2 separate regions of the Homo sapiens genome follow, and region 2 is linked to region 1. Evidence: promoter capture Hi-C in 16 types of primary human blood cells and fetal thymus (Javierre and others, 2016). All regions are on one chromosome and are shown on one strand. The core of a region is centred on a gene start or on the middle of the fragment in contact, and the rest is flanking DNA. Distances in the headings are between cores, read along the strand shown.

Evidence for each region. Contacts are between HindIII fragments. The CHiCAGO score rates a contact against its expected background, and 5 or more counts as called.
Region 2: a fragment that was not itself captured here is called in contact with the fragment with the promoter of DHX15 in region 1 in 2 of 17 cell types (erythroblasts and total B cells); the score reaches 7.5 in erythroblasts.

Annotation. Positions count from the first base shown.
Region 1 is chr4:24,580,475-24,587,550 of GRCh38, forward strand. It overlaps DHX15 (DEAH-box helicase 15), which reads right to left and starts at 4,080. Exons shown (of 14, transcript NM_001358.3): 1 at 3,849-4,080. The coding sequence starts at 3,919. RefSeq lists silencers at 3,339-3,388, 3,589-3,668, 3,679-3,798 and an enhancer at 3,979-4,518. The HindIII fragment of the contact is 7,218 bases long and covers 1,560-7,076 here.
Region 2 is chr4:25,143,709-25,150,784 of GRCh38, forward strand. SEPSECS (Sep (O-phosphoserine) tRNA:Sec (selenocysteine) tRNA synthase) reads right to left here. Exons shown (of 11, transcript NM_016955.4): 7 at 1,296-1,425; 8 at 1,066-1,157. Among named protein-coding and RNA genes, the nearest start is that of SEPSECS, 13 kb to the right of the region's middle. The HindIII fragment of the contact is 2,158 bases long and covers 3,446-5,603 here.

The DNA of each region.
Region 1 (7,076 bases), core at 2,830-5,329:
GGTCATCAAAATCATGATATTTTAAATAAGCATTGCTTTTTTTTTTTTTTTTTAAAGACAGTCTACCTCTGTTACCCAGGCTGGAGTGTAGTGGTGCAATCTCGACTCACTGCAACCTCTGCCTCCCAGGTTCAAGCAATTCTCCTGCCTCAGCCTCCGGAGTAAGTAGCTGGGATTACAGCAGTGCGCCACCATGCCCAGTGTATTTTTGTATTTTTAACAGAGACAAAAATAGGTTTTATTACCTTGGCCAGGCTGGTCTTGAACTCCTGACCTCAGGTGATCCATTCGCCTAGGCCTCCCAAAGTGCTGTGATTACAGGTGTGAGCCATCACACCCGGCAATAAGCACTGCTTTTTATCCGTCAATCTTATTTCCAGGAACCTCTCAAGGATGTGTGCAAATACGTATGTATAAGGATGTTCATCAAACTTCTCATTTATAAAATAGCAACAAGTGGAAAACTACCTAAATATCAATGAACAGGATATTGGTTAAATAAGTGATGTCATACCTTTACAACTGGAGTACTATGGCAGTCAATCTATTTATTTTTTATTATTTTTTTTTTTTTGAGATGGAGGCTCGCTCTGTTGCCCAGGCTGGAGTGCAGTGGCACAATCTCGGCTCACTGCAAGCTCCGCCTCCCGGGTTCATACCATTCTTCCTCAGCCTCCCAGAGTAGCTGGGACTACAGGTGCCCGCCACCACACCCGGCTAATTTTTTGTATTTTTAGTAGAGACAGGGTTTCACCGTGTTAGCCAGGATGGTCTTGATCTCCTGACCTCGTGATCCACCCGCCTCGGCCTCCCAAAGTGCTGGGATTACAGGCGTGAGCCATTGCGCCCGGCCTATGGCAGCCAATTTAAAAGCGTAATGTGTACCTACAGTTAATGACATTTCTGAGTGGAAAAAAAAATCAAAGTACAAAATAACACGCGTTGATCCCACTGATATTAAATTTTATAGTTCATATTTTTGAGTCAATATGCAGAGATCTTAGAAAATGTTCACCAAAAACTGTTATCCAAAGATGGAGATGAAGATTTTAGGGAATGCCTTCTTTAAACCTTTGAGTATAAACATTTCTTATGTTCCCTGTGGCAAGTTCATTTAACCTCATCTACCATACAGGATTGTAGTGAAAATGTGCATGCTCCACAAATGTTATCACAGTATTAATACATTAGCTTTACTTTCCCATAATTAACAGAAAAAACTCTTATCAGGTGGTAATATCAAAAACCAACATCAAAATGAAAAACGCCCCTAACATCGAAAACTTTTTTCCATACTTCAACAGTAAGTATGGAAAATTATTACTTTCGGTAATTGTATAGTGAAGATTCTGTGGGTTGACAAAAAGAAGAAATGAGGCCAGAATATGCAACAGAAACCTATAATAACTTCACCTGATTTCAAAGTTAAAATATGCCAGGAGTAAATAAAGCCTTATATAGTTTGGGAGCATTAATATAAGTGAAATCTCCCACTGAATTACCTTCCCTTCTCAGTACTGCAGAAACCCTATCTGGCAGTGGAGTTTGTAAGACTGACAAGCTTATGCTCTCCAATAAAACCACTTGCTTATCAGGGAAAAAAAAAATCTGCAGGATTGCATGGCAGTCAACAAGTGACTTAAAATTATCGAGTATGAAAAAATTCTGAGGCCGATAAACACCTTAAGTCCACTGTTAAATAAAACCAGTTCAAGGATAAATGGCACTCAAATGACATAGAAATGAGTATAAAAACTTCCCTCTACTATTTCTTATAACTTGGGCATTATTCCAAAGATGAACTCTCCTTTATCCATAGGCAAATTCTAAATAATATACAAGGGAATCATAAAGCTACCATTAGACTCCAAAAGTCAACCTTTTTACTAAGGATATCTGTTTTTGCAAGAGAAAGTAAACAATCGCACATACATATGGTGGGACCACTAATCCCAAGGGGAACATTTTAAATGGTGCACATATGCACAAATACAAATGAATTCATTCATTCCCTCCCAGAATATTTTGTTCCAATCTGACCTCCTGTGAGAGACATCAGTTCCAGATGACAGCAATTTATTTTTGCCTTAGAGAAATCAAGAACTAAGTGTTCCCTACTTTACCAACGCATTATAAATGTCATTAAAATAGGCTGTAATGACTCTTAACTACAGTACTGAACTGTGTGCTGCTGAGTGAAAATGACAAAGGCAGGGTTCCAGATCCTGCTGTAAACTTGCACAAGCCACCTTAACTCTGTTCTCCACTTCTCATTCCTTGATTGGAGCCGCGTATAGTCTTTTTTAAGTTGCTTCCAGCTCTGAGTCTGTGACATACAGCTCAGAGGTATTAACGTTTTGTGGGGCGTAATGGTGGGGGAGGGTGATAGCCTAAAGAGAGTCTGTCTTACAATGTCATTGTCTTTTTTACAATGCCTAATATCGTAAACTAAATAACTCACAAAATTAAAATGTGACATGCTTTTGCTTTCTATTGAATAATTCAACATATGGCAAAGCCTCAAAAAGTACACCCTATCCTGGCTTATACTCTACAATGACACTAAACATATCCCTGGAAATCAATTTCAATGAAGAACTTTAGCTGAAAAATTCAAAACAGCTATACAGGTGACTTGACACAGTGATTCTGTATCACAAGTACACAATAAAATGATACAATTATGCAAAGTATTTGGCTACTCGGGCTTTTGTGGGTTTTGCCTGAATTATCCAAACAGGTCTTTGTACTTCATCAATGAAAACACACAAGGGACAAGAAATGATTTTCACGAAATTGCTTAAATTAACTGCTAAATTCCTCTGTACCTTTAAGGAAAGGAATCTGGAACACCAAGAGTTTGTGTAAGTATTTCAACTCTCAACCTCCACATGGGCGGTGTTTCGCCATAAATACTAAAAACACGTTTTGAACATGATCCCTGTATTTCAAAAGCTACTTATGAAGAAAAGTGGGACATGCATAGAAAATAAATGATGAAAAAAAAAAACAATGCCTTCTAATCCCTCCCCATGGGACGATGTTCAGTAACCAGTTTTAACCAAAGCAGGAAATACAGGAGATGGCGGGAGCGTAGGCAGAGAGCGGAAGTTTGCTAGTATCTACTTTGAAGTGTTTGAATGGACCAAGGCACGCTCTCTCCCGCCAAACTATAAACTCAGTCGCCCCAAAACACCAGCCTTCCAGCCCATCAGGTATATTACTCCACGTTTTCCTTTCTCCCGGCAGGTCCTCTACTCCCACCTCCCCCGAGAACTCCCTATTTGCTGGCTTCTCTCAACTCCCGCCACCCCCATCCCAGCCTACATTATGATCCACGCGCTGCTCTCACTTTCCGCCCTCCGCCTTTCCCGTCTGGAGTGCCTGGCCGCGCCCCCACCCAGGCCCTCCCCACGGCCCCTCTGGCTGGGAAGTGCCTGCTGCCCTTGGAAGCGAATACTCCCACCGCGCCCTCCCCCACCCTCTCCTCCGGCTCCAGGCCTTCCTCGGGAACCGAGGCCACGAGGTCCGCGGTTCACTCCCGCCCGACGCCCTCGCAAATGACTCCCGCTCGGTTCGGCCTGGGGGAGGAGGCGCCCTCATGGCTACTGCAGGCCTCTCCACCCTCCGGACTGGGCTGGGCAGCGGCCCCGTCGCACGCAACCCCCCGCGCCCTTGCCGGGCCGAACGGGCGCCGCGCTTCTCCTACCCGCCGCTAGTGAACCCAGCCCAGAGAGAAACAAAGGCTCGGGCTCCAGGACCCGCTCGGCCAGGCCAGCCCCGGCCCGCTCCCTGCCAGGACCCCAACAAAGCCCGAGCTGCCGCCTCGCGCCCCCGGCCTGGCTTACCCATCGGTCCCCGCACGCTTCTTGCCAGAGGGGTAATCCTCCCCTAGGTCCAACCGGTGCCGCTTGGACATCCTCGCACTCTTCGAACGGGCAGTTATTAAGGAAGAAAGCTGGCTGCTGTATGGGCACAGTCGAGGACAGCCACTTAACTCTGGAGGACCCCCACCCCTCCCGCTACTACAGCCCACACGGTGCGGCCGGAACCAACAGCTAAAATGGCGGCGGCGACGAGGGCTGGGCCTGCGCGCGCGCGCGCTTCCGCAGCGTGCGTGCGTGCGAGTGTGCGTGTGAGCGAGGTGCGCGCGCACGACGCCCAAAGGCGGGAACTCCTGTCCCGCCCGCTGCCTCATTGGTCCGACCTTTCTTGGGTCTCCTCCCTCTTCCTGTAGCTTTCCCCTCCTCGGAGCGGCTGTTAGGAAGAACCTGAAGGCCTTCACTTTCCATTTCAGGCTATCCTTGCCCCTCTGAGTCAAGAAATTGAGAAAGTCTAGTCCTAGTTAGGAAATCCTATTCATTTCTATTACCCCGGCTTTAAGGGAATCTCAGACCCAGAGAGGTTGAGAAACGAATGAAGATCGTACAGCTAATAAGTGGCAGAGCCGGGATTGGAACCCAGCTATTTAGTAACTCCAGATCTGGAACTTGCGGCCACTGCGCTACCCTCAGTTGCAGTGAGGGGCCGCGCGATGGTTCACGCCTGTAATCCCAACGCTTTGGGAGACCGAGGCGGGTGGATCACGAGGTCAGGAGTTCGAGACCAGCCTGGCCAACACGGTGAAACCCCGTCTCTACTAAAAATACAAAAATTAGCTGGGCGTGGTGGCGTACGCCTGTAATCCCAGCTACTCGGTAGGCTGAGGCAGGAGAATCGCTTGAACCTGGGAGGCGGAGGTTGCGGTGAGACGAGATCACACCAGTGCACTCCAGCCTGGACGACAGAACAAGACTCCGACTTGAAAGAAAAAAAAAAATCAATTGCAGTGAGGAAACTGAAGTGAGAAAATGTTAAGGCTTGTCATGATCTATTTTGCCCTTTTCTTGCCCAGCACGGACACCATGCACCCAAGCTATAGATGTTTTTAACTAGAATACAGAGAATTCGCAGTGAGGGCACAATTTGCTTTTTTGTTTTTTGTTTTTCTGTGCCTATTAATGCACTTTCGCAGTGTTAAATAACACCCTGCAAGGTAGTTGTTATTTTGTAGACGTAGACGCAAAGGCTGAGGAAGGTTACATCTCCTAGCCATAAGGGCTGTACCTAAAGCCATAACAAGGAGGTGGGGCAAGATGACTCTAAGGATTTTTGTGGATCTCTCCCCCTAGAATATGTCTGCTTCCTCAGTTGCATTTGTTCCCAGAAGAAATGCACAAGAAAAGATCTGTGGACCATCTGCAGCAGGGTGATCTCTGTTGTTCATGGAATGGCTTGGTTTGGCTGCCCTGGAAGACCATACTCTGGTTCTTATCCAAATCTCAGGACTGCAATTGCTAGGATTAAATGCAACTTAAATATTGCAACTGATGAGGGGTTTGTGTGTTTGTTTTGAGACAGTCTTGCTCTGTCGCCCAGGCTGGAGGACAGTGGTGCAATCTCAGCTCACTGCAACCTCCGCCTCCCGGGTTTAAGCCATTCTCCTGCCTCAGCCTCCCTCCTAGCTGGGATTATAAGCGCCCGCCACCACGCCCGGCTACGCGCCCGGCTAATTTTGGTATTTTTAGTAGAGACGTAGAGACGAGGTGTCGCCATGCTGGCCAGGCTGGTCTTGAACTCCGGACCTCAAGTGATCTGCCCACCTCGGCCTCCCAAAGTGCTGGGATTACAGGCGTGAGCCACTGCACCCAGCCAGCAATTGGTAAGGAGGGTTTTTATTTTTTTGTACCAAATCCACATTGGAAAGTCAACACAAAGAAAAATGAGTATATTTTTCACTTGTGAAATATTCAGTACAACTTTCTATCCTAAATGTACCATAGTCCCTACTTTGTCCCTGGTTTTGCTTTCACAGTACAGTAAGATATTCTGAGAGAAAGACCACATTCACATAGCTTCTATTACAGTATAGATTCTCCTTGACTTATGATGGGGTGATGGCCATCGCAAAGCCATCGTAAACTGAAAATGTTGTAAGTTGAACATGCAGTTAATATACCGATAAACCCATCGTGAAGTCAAAAAATCTGGTCAAACAATTGTAAGTCAAGACTGTCTGTATGTTGTTATAAATGTTTTATTATTAGTTGTTAATATCTTACTGTGCCTAATTTATAAGTTACACTTTATCATAATTACATATGTATAGGAAAAAACTGAAATTAAAATGATGAGTTGGCCTTCTATTATCTGTGGGTTCCTTATCCCTGGATTCAATCAACTGCAAATCAAAAATATATTTTTCTTTAAAAATGGATGGTTGCATCTGTATTGAACATGTACAGACTTTTTCTTGCTCTTATTTCTTAAACAATACAGTATAACAGCTATTTCCATAGCAATTACATTGTATTAGGTATTATAAGTGATCTAGTGATGATTAAGTATACAGAAGAATGTGCATAGGTTATATGCAAATACTGTACTATTTTATATCAGACACTTGAACCTCCACGGACTTTAGTGTCGGCAGTTTCTCCTGGAACCAATCCCTAGTGGATACTGAGGGACAATTGTGTTGACTTTTTTCAGATCATGATGTATAATCACTGGATTCCATCTGATTTTTCTCTTTTTGCTTAATTTTACAAATGAGGGAAACTGAACCCCTAGGTCTTATTGAAGTTCACACAATCAGTTGGTATCAAAGTCAGAATAAAATACAGATTTCACTTGAAGTATTAAAATCTCAGTCTTCAGGTTTCCAGTTTGATGACTGCTATAAAGTGCTCTAAAATTTTGGAGAAATAATCAGGGAAAAAAGTTAGAATTCTACCTGCAGAAGTGCTCCACTCAGATGTCAGCCTCTCATAAATGATGAAAGAGGAACTGAAATCAAGGTGATGAGACTTTTCCCTTGGGCCTAGGTTACAGCTAAAGAAAACCATAACCTCATCAGTTGTGTTGTGACCTGAACAATTAAAGAAAGGCCCTGGGCAGGCGTGGTGGTTCACACCTGTAATTCCAGCACTTTGGGAGGCCGAGGCAGGTGGATCATGAGGTCAGGAGTTCGAGACCAGGCTGACCAACATGGTGAAACCCCGTCTCTACTAAAAATACAAAAATGAGCCAGGCAT
Region 2 (7,076 bases), core at 3,275-5,774, 560 kb after region 1:
TTTTTAAACTTGTTATGTATTCATCCTAAGGCTATGAGATCATCTATGAGATAATACATATGAAAATGCTTTAGAATATATAAAGTACTATTATAAATATAAGGGACTACAATTGTTGTTAAGTGCTAGAAAGTTATCAGATTTAAAAACTGCACCAGAGGACTCACTCTCTCCCAGATAGAAGATGAATAAAACACTGCCTGCCCTAGCTATACAAGCTCTGTCTTTTGGAGGTGTCCTGAATTAAGCTAGTTGTGTTGGAGATAAAGTCATGTTTTCAAATATAAATGTAACTTCTTTTCATAACCAATATAACCAATGAGTTCAGCGTTCAATAATGACAAGAAATAGGCCAGGCGTGGTGGGTAACGTCTGTAATCCCAGCACTTTGGGAGGCTGAGGCGGGTGGATCACGAGGTCAGGAGTTGGAGATCAGCCTAGCCAACATAGTGAAACCCCGTCTCTACTAAAAATACAAAAAATTAGTCGGGTGTGGTGGCGGGCGCTTGTAATCCCAGCTACTCGGGAGGCTGAGGCAGAAGAATGGTTTGAACCTGGGAGGCGGAGGTTGCAGTGAGCCAAGATCGTGCCATTGCACTCCAACCCAAGACTCCGCTCAAAAAAAAAAAAAAAAAAAAGATAGAGCTAACTTCTGACCTGATTCTTCCTCTTGTGACTGACATCTCACTCCTAAACAATTTTCAAGTTTCCAAAAACTAAAAAGATGACTTATCCATTTGTCTTTTAAGAGCTTCTACCTTTAAGTACCTTTAAGTGATAAATGAATTGAATTTTATTGAATAAGAGTCCCTAATGCAGGAGTTTCTAAAAAGTAAATAAATAAAAGCAAAATCACCTAACCCAGATTCCTCGTAATATCTGGATAGACAGGCTGACAAAAAGTAATAGGAAACCACCTATGGTGGTTCCAGATCTGAATAAATACTATCGGACCATACTAGATGTCTCCCTCCCAGTGCAAGAAACCAACAGGCAGAAAACACCAATGATTTGGAGCACAGTTCTAGTCAAGAATGTTATTCGACACCTAAAGGGAAAGCTTACCTTTCTTTCTTTTAGTAGCTTCTTATAGCCATTTGATCCAAGTGACAATAAAGTAATAAGGACATCTAAAGAAGGTGAAGCTGAAGCTCTTCCTGAAATAAGAAGGATAAGTTACATTAAGACTGTGGTGGGGGGGTAGCTTTGGAAATTAAGATTTACTACAATAGCCTATGTACAAATGGATTTTTGTTTGTTAGCTACTTTTTCTGAAAAGCAACTTATTTATTTACCTGGATACATCTTGCTGATTTCCTGAATGAATGAATCATTAAAGCCAGCAATTATAGCACCACCTACTGGAACCATAAAATTTTTGTCCAAGCTCTGAACAAAAGCATCTATTCTACCAACTCGAGCCCCCTGGAATCAATATGATATTACATATTAGTTGCTAGGAAAACAGACAACTGCTATTAACAAACAAATACCACAACAAAAAATTATAACTATTTGAGTTAATTAATATATTAGCCTGATTTAACCATTTTACAATATATACATGCATCAAAACATCAAATTGTACACTGTAAATATATACAATTTTTGTCAACTCTACCTTAGAATAAAAATAAACACCATTAAAACAATGCATGGAAAAAACAATTGAAAAATTTTATTTTTATTTTCTTTGTAATAGTGCCAAGAAAATGTTTTTAAGTATTAAACCAAAATTTTTAATGGTGCTCCTTATATGTGCAACTTTAAGTTTACAACCTGCTTTCACACATAAATCATTTAATCTTCATAACAACTCTGTGAGGCAAGCACGGTTTCAGTATCAGCTCAGGTGGGAACTTTAATGAAACAAAGCTTTACACCTTAAAATTTGATAAGAAAGAATGGATTCATCCCATGCCTCTCATCTGTGCTCCTTTTTTTGACAACAAATGTCTACAATGGGTCCTATAACTATTAAGTGGTTTTAAACATCCTCTGTGAGTTCGAGGGTGGCCACCATAACCTAATGGACTATAGCCATCCGAGTTGCCAAACAGTTAATTATACATGTGCCTCTCTTTAATGCTTGGACAATCTACTACCTGTATGACCATTTTAAGCACTCAGATAAAAAACAAATGCAAAGTTTTACTTTTAACATCACTTAATGGAAGTTTTATTTGTATACTCTTGGCAATTCTAGAAGCAATGTTTCTACATAACTCATGCTCCCTAATATTATAAACTTAGATTTCATTCCACTGCAAATGAACTTCCAGTGAAAATCTAATATTCCGGTGAAAAATTGAATACTTACCTACTAGAAATGTAAAACTAAGTTCGGTCCTCATCCAACTTTCTGTCTAATGTGCTTCAATTTTCTCCTCTTAAAAATAGAGATACTGTCTAAATTACAACTAACATAGTCTTTTTCTTTATCTGTAGCCACAGATTTTCAATCTGTATTCACAATCTGTATTCCTATTAATATTATAACCATATTTGACCTTCATTTTCACACCTTGCTATCTGAGGGAGAACAGAAGGAGCAGATAGCTGGCCTAATCTCAGAGTCCAGATCCAGGCAACAGGTGGAAGCAGCCGAAGCAGGGAAGAGGAGCAGCTGCTCTGGAGGCCATTATACAACTGTTCAAATCTTAACCTTCCTCTTCCTCTTCTTTCTAATTTCCTAATAAACCATGATCAGAGAAAATCTCACCATATCACAGGAAAATAGAGAGATGCATATAAGACTAACAGAATAAAAAAAACTGGAAAACATGCGAAGTAGCAGCATATAAAGATAAGTGGACAGTCAGAGTTGCCTTTGTATTAACATTTTAGTACTGTCCAAGGCCTCCTGAGAGAAACAGGAACCTAAACTGGAAGCAGAAGTACTAGAGGAATCAATGCACCAGACTTTGCTAGAACCCTTCCATCACTAAAACACAGAAAGCATTTAAAAGGCAGCACATTCTGTGGCAAGAAAACAAACAGGCCAGACCCAATCTCAGAAATGGTACAAGACCCCCTTTTTCAGCTACATCTAAGTCATCAGTATATGCTCTAAAATCCACTCTCAAAATACATCTGAATAAAAGCATTTATTACCACCTTCACAACTACCACCCTGGCCAAAGCCACCAAAAAATCTCATATGGGTTGCTGCAACAGCCTTCCACTCTTGCCTCCCTACAGTCTATTTCCCACATAGCATGTCACTCTTTCCTGCTTGAAATCCTTCCATGGCCAATGATCATACCAAAAACAAAATCCCAAACCCTTAACACACCTCAAAGCTCTACAACCACTGTTCACCTTGTTCATTATGGTTCAGCCATACTGGCCTCCTTGCTATTTCTCACATATTCCAAGCACGCTCCTGCCTCAGAGTCTTGGCTGTTAGCTTCTGACTGGAATCTCTCTCTCTAGAGAGCTGCAAAGCTTCCTCCTGCATCATTCAGAGCTCCACTCACATGTACTTCTTGAAGAGTGCTTCCTAGATCACTCCATCTAATGATATCCATCCTCCCCAAATACCAGAGCATTTATCCAAGACTTGTCATACTCAAGGTTTACTCTCTGCTTTCGCACAAAAAATAGAATGCTCTATGAGGGTTAAAGATTTTGTTGGATTCACTATTGCATCTCCAGTTCCTACCCTGGTGCCTGGTACACAAGCAGGAACCCAGAAAGTATTTGTTGAATGAAGTGACAATTGGGTTTGTGAATAAACAGTAGTAATACCTACTTCTCTCAAATTCTGAACAGGCAAAGTTGCTGCTTCCCACACTTTTGGAACTTTACAATCCATTGTGACTCAAAATAATCAGTCTTATATGCATATTTTTGTGACTCTACTATATCCCTCTCCATTAATCTATCCTAACATCCATAATTCATGAATCTCTTAAATTCGTCATTTTAGTAAATATAAACAGAAATATAGGTTACTCAAAACTAACTTCCCCTGGAGGTGGGGTTATGTGCATACAGAATACTCTATATGCTCAGCCTTAAGTCATTCTGGGGTCTCATCTTAAAAACAAAAAAGTTAAAAACATAATGTTAAAACAATAAAAATAAAAAAAATTTATTTATACTTTTCTTCATTGATTGATTATTGCAATATTATTTTCTCAAGAAAAGACTTACAGTATTAGTATTTTAGTACTTTGTTTTTTAACAGAAAAATGGGACTTTGGAGTCGCACTGAACTAGATGGGCTATTTTGTAGCTACAGGACCTTAGGGAAGTCACTTAATCCCACTTATTTTATTTCCCCATGTGCAGAATGGGAATAAGAAGTACACCTTAAATTGTCAGGATTCAGCTGATAACTTTAAAAGCCTAGTAGAGGGCCAGGCACGGTGGCTCACATCTGTAATCCCAGCACTTTGGGAGGCCAAGGCGGGTGGATCACGAGGTCAGGAGATTGAGACCACCCTGGCTAACACGGTGAAACCCCGTCTCTACTAAAAAATACAAAAAATTAGCCAGGCATGGTGGTGGGCGCCTGTAGTCCCAGCTACTCGGGAGGCTGAGGCAGGAGAATGGCGTGAACCTGGGAGGCGGAGCTTGCAGTGAGCCAAGATCGCGCTACTGCACTCCAGCCTGGGCGACAGAGCGAGACTCCGTCTCAAAAAAAAAAAAAAAAAAAAAAAAGCCTAGTAGGATGCCTGACACATGGAGAGTGTGTAGTAAATGGTATATATTAACAATAAGGACTATTGAGATGAATTAAGGCTAACTTTAATTTTTTAGAATGTCATGAAACAGCAACCTGCACTCAACAAGACTCAAGTATTCATTTGATTTAAATCAATAGTGCCACAACCTCTTTTGGTGAAGGCCAATTTGGGAAAAATAGAATGTTTATATATTTGCTTTTTTTGTTTTAAAGAAATGTCCATTTTAATAAGTTCTAACGTTCAATAGCACAGTACAGTGACTATAGTTAACAACAATGTATTGTATATTTCAAAATACCTAGAAGAGAGTATGTGAAATGTTCCCAACACAAAAAGATATAATAAATGCCACATAATGGATAGCCTAAGTACTCTGACTTAATCATCCCACAATCTGTACATGTATCAAAATATCATTTGCACTCCATAAATATACCCAGATATTAGGTATCAAAGAAATTTTTTAACAAATGTCAACTTTAGAAGGTAATACATTATCTGCAACAATATCTGCATTTAAAAGTTTATTCATCCATCTTATAGTTTTATTTTTTGGTTAAAATTTTAGTAAAACCACCTCCCAAATGCAGAGAGGTAATGACAAAGCAGAGTATTAGGGATGTGCAACTCCAAGAGCACCTTTCTTATTGTATTCTGGAGCTTTTATTTTTTTTTTGGCGGAGTCTCGCTCTGTCACCCAGGCTGAGTGCAGTGGGGCTATCTTGGCTCACTGCAAGCTCCGCCTCCTGGGTTCATGCCATTCTCCTGCCTCAGCCTCCTGAGTAGCTGGGACTACAAGTACACACCACCACACCCAGAGAATTTTTTTTTAAATTTTAGTTTTGTAGAGATGGAGTCTTGCTTTGTTGCCCAGGGAGGTCTCAAACTCCTGGCTTCAAGTGATCCACAAGCTTCAGCCTTCCAAAGTGCTGGAATTACAGAGGGGAGCCACCACACCCAGCCTCTCTTAGTTTTAACCTCTTCAGGTGCACCACCAAATTTTCTAGTATTTAAAAATATGTTGTATCATTAAAATGATCATTATGAAAACTTTATAGCATCTGAAGGGTACAGAAATATAACACTAAAAAAATTAAATGTACACAATGAATATAACTATGTAAAAACAATATGCATATAAAAAGAGAAAAAGTAAATACATAAATTGTTAAGGGTATTTGTTAGGGTAATAGCATTATGAGTGATCTTCTACTCCTTCCTCATTTTCCTAAACTTTTAGTAATACTGATGGTATTTGACTTTTAAAAGGAGAGAAGCTGCTAAAAATTACACAGAAGAAGAGCAAGAGGGAAAGGGAAAGGAGGAATAAAAATCAATCACTGAAATAAAATGTTTTTCAAGATTTCCAGTGTAGAAAATTGTACACCCTTCCTCTATGACCATACAAATTAGATATAACCTAGTCTACAATAAGTGAAGAAGCCTTAAAAAGTTAAGGAATAGCAAAAAGAAATACCAAGGAAATGGTAAACAGTCTTTCTCTAAAGGTTTTAAGAAATCCCAACACACCATGCCTACAACCCACTCCACCTCTGGACTTGCTACATAAATTAATCCATTTCCTTATTGGTTTAAGCCAACTTGAGTTGGGTGCCTGTTACTTGCTGCCAATGACATCCTAACTGATACAAAGTTGAGTAAAGAAGTTAAGCAAATCAGTGATTACTATTTCATATAAACCACATTTATGTAAAAGATGATATTAGTATACTAAAAATAATATAAAAGACAAAAAATGTACTAGATAGTATCTATTGTGCTTCAGAGCATTTACCATATTGGAGCAAGACACAGGTAATCTGTGAATAACTTATGCCCACATAACACAAATCACATGTATGTCAAAACTGTATGTGTATATTAACATCATTATGCACACAAACTATGTAGTCCATACCATACATGCATAAATACAATACTTTATTTATTCACTGACTGTTCAGTAACCAGTTATTAATTGTCCATTACGTACCAGATATTGTCTTAAGTACTGAGGGCACAGCAGTGAACAAAACAAAGTTCTACCCCAACAGAACCTTAATTCTAATCACTGTCAATAACAAACATTATATCAAATGGTGATAAGTGTTCTGGAGAAAAATAGCAAGGAGCCATCAATTTTAAGAAACATCATTATTTTATATGTCACTACGTAAAAAAAAAACACTGCCTATTAACATTGTAAGACACCACTGATTATTAAGACATCAGAATTTCAGATGTCAAAATGTAGAACATAGCATCTTAAAATCAATGAACATGGTAAAAAAGCAAAAAGAAGGATAGAAAATGCTAGCAAGGGCTGGGCGCAGTGGCTCACATCTGCAATCCCAGCACTTTGTGGGGCCGAGGTGGGAGGCT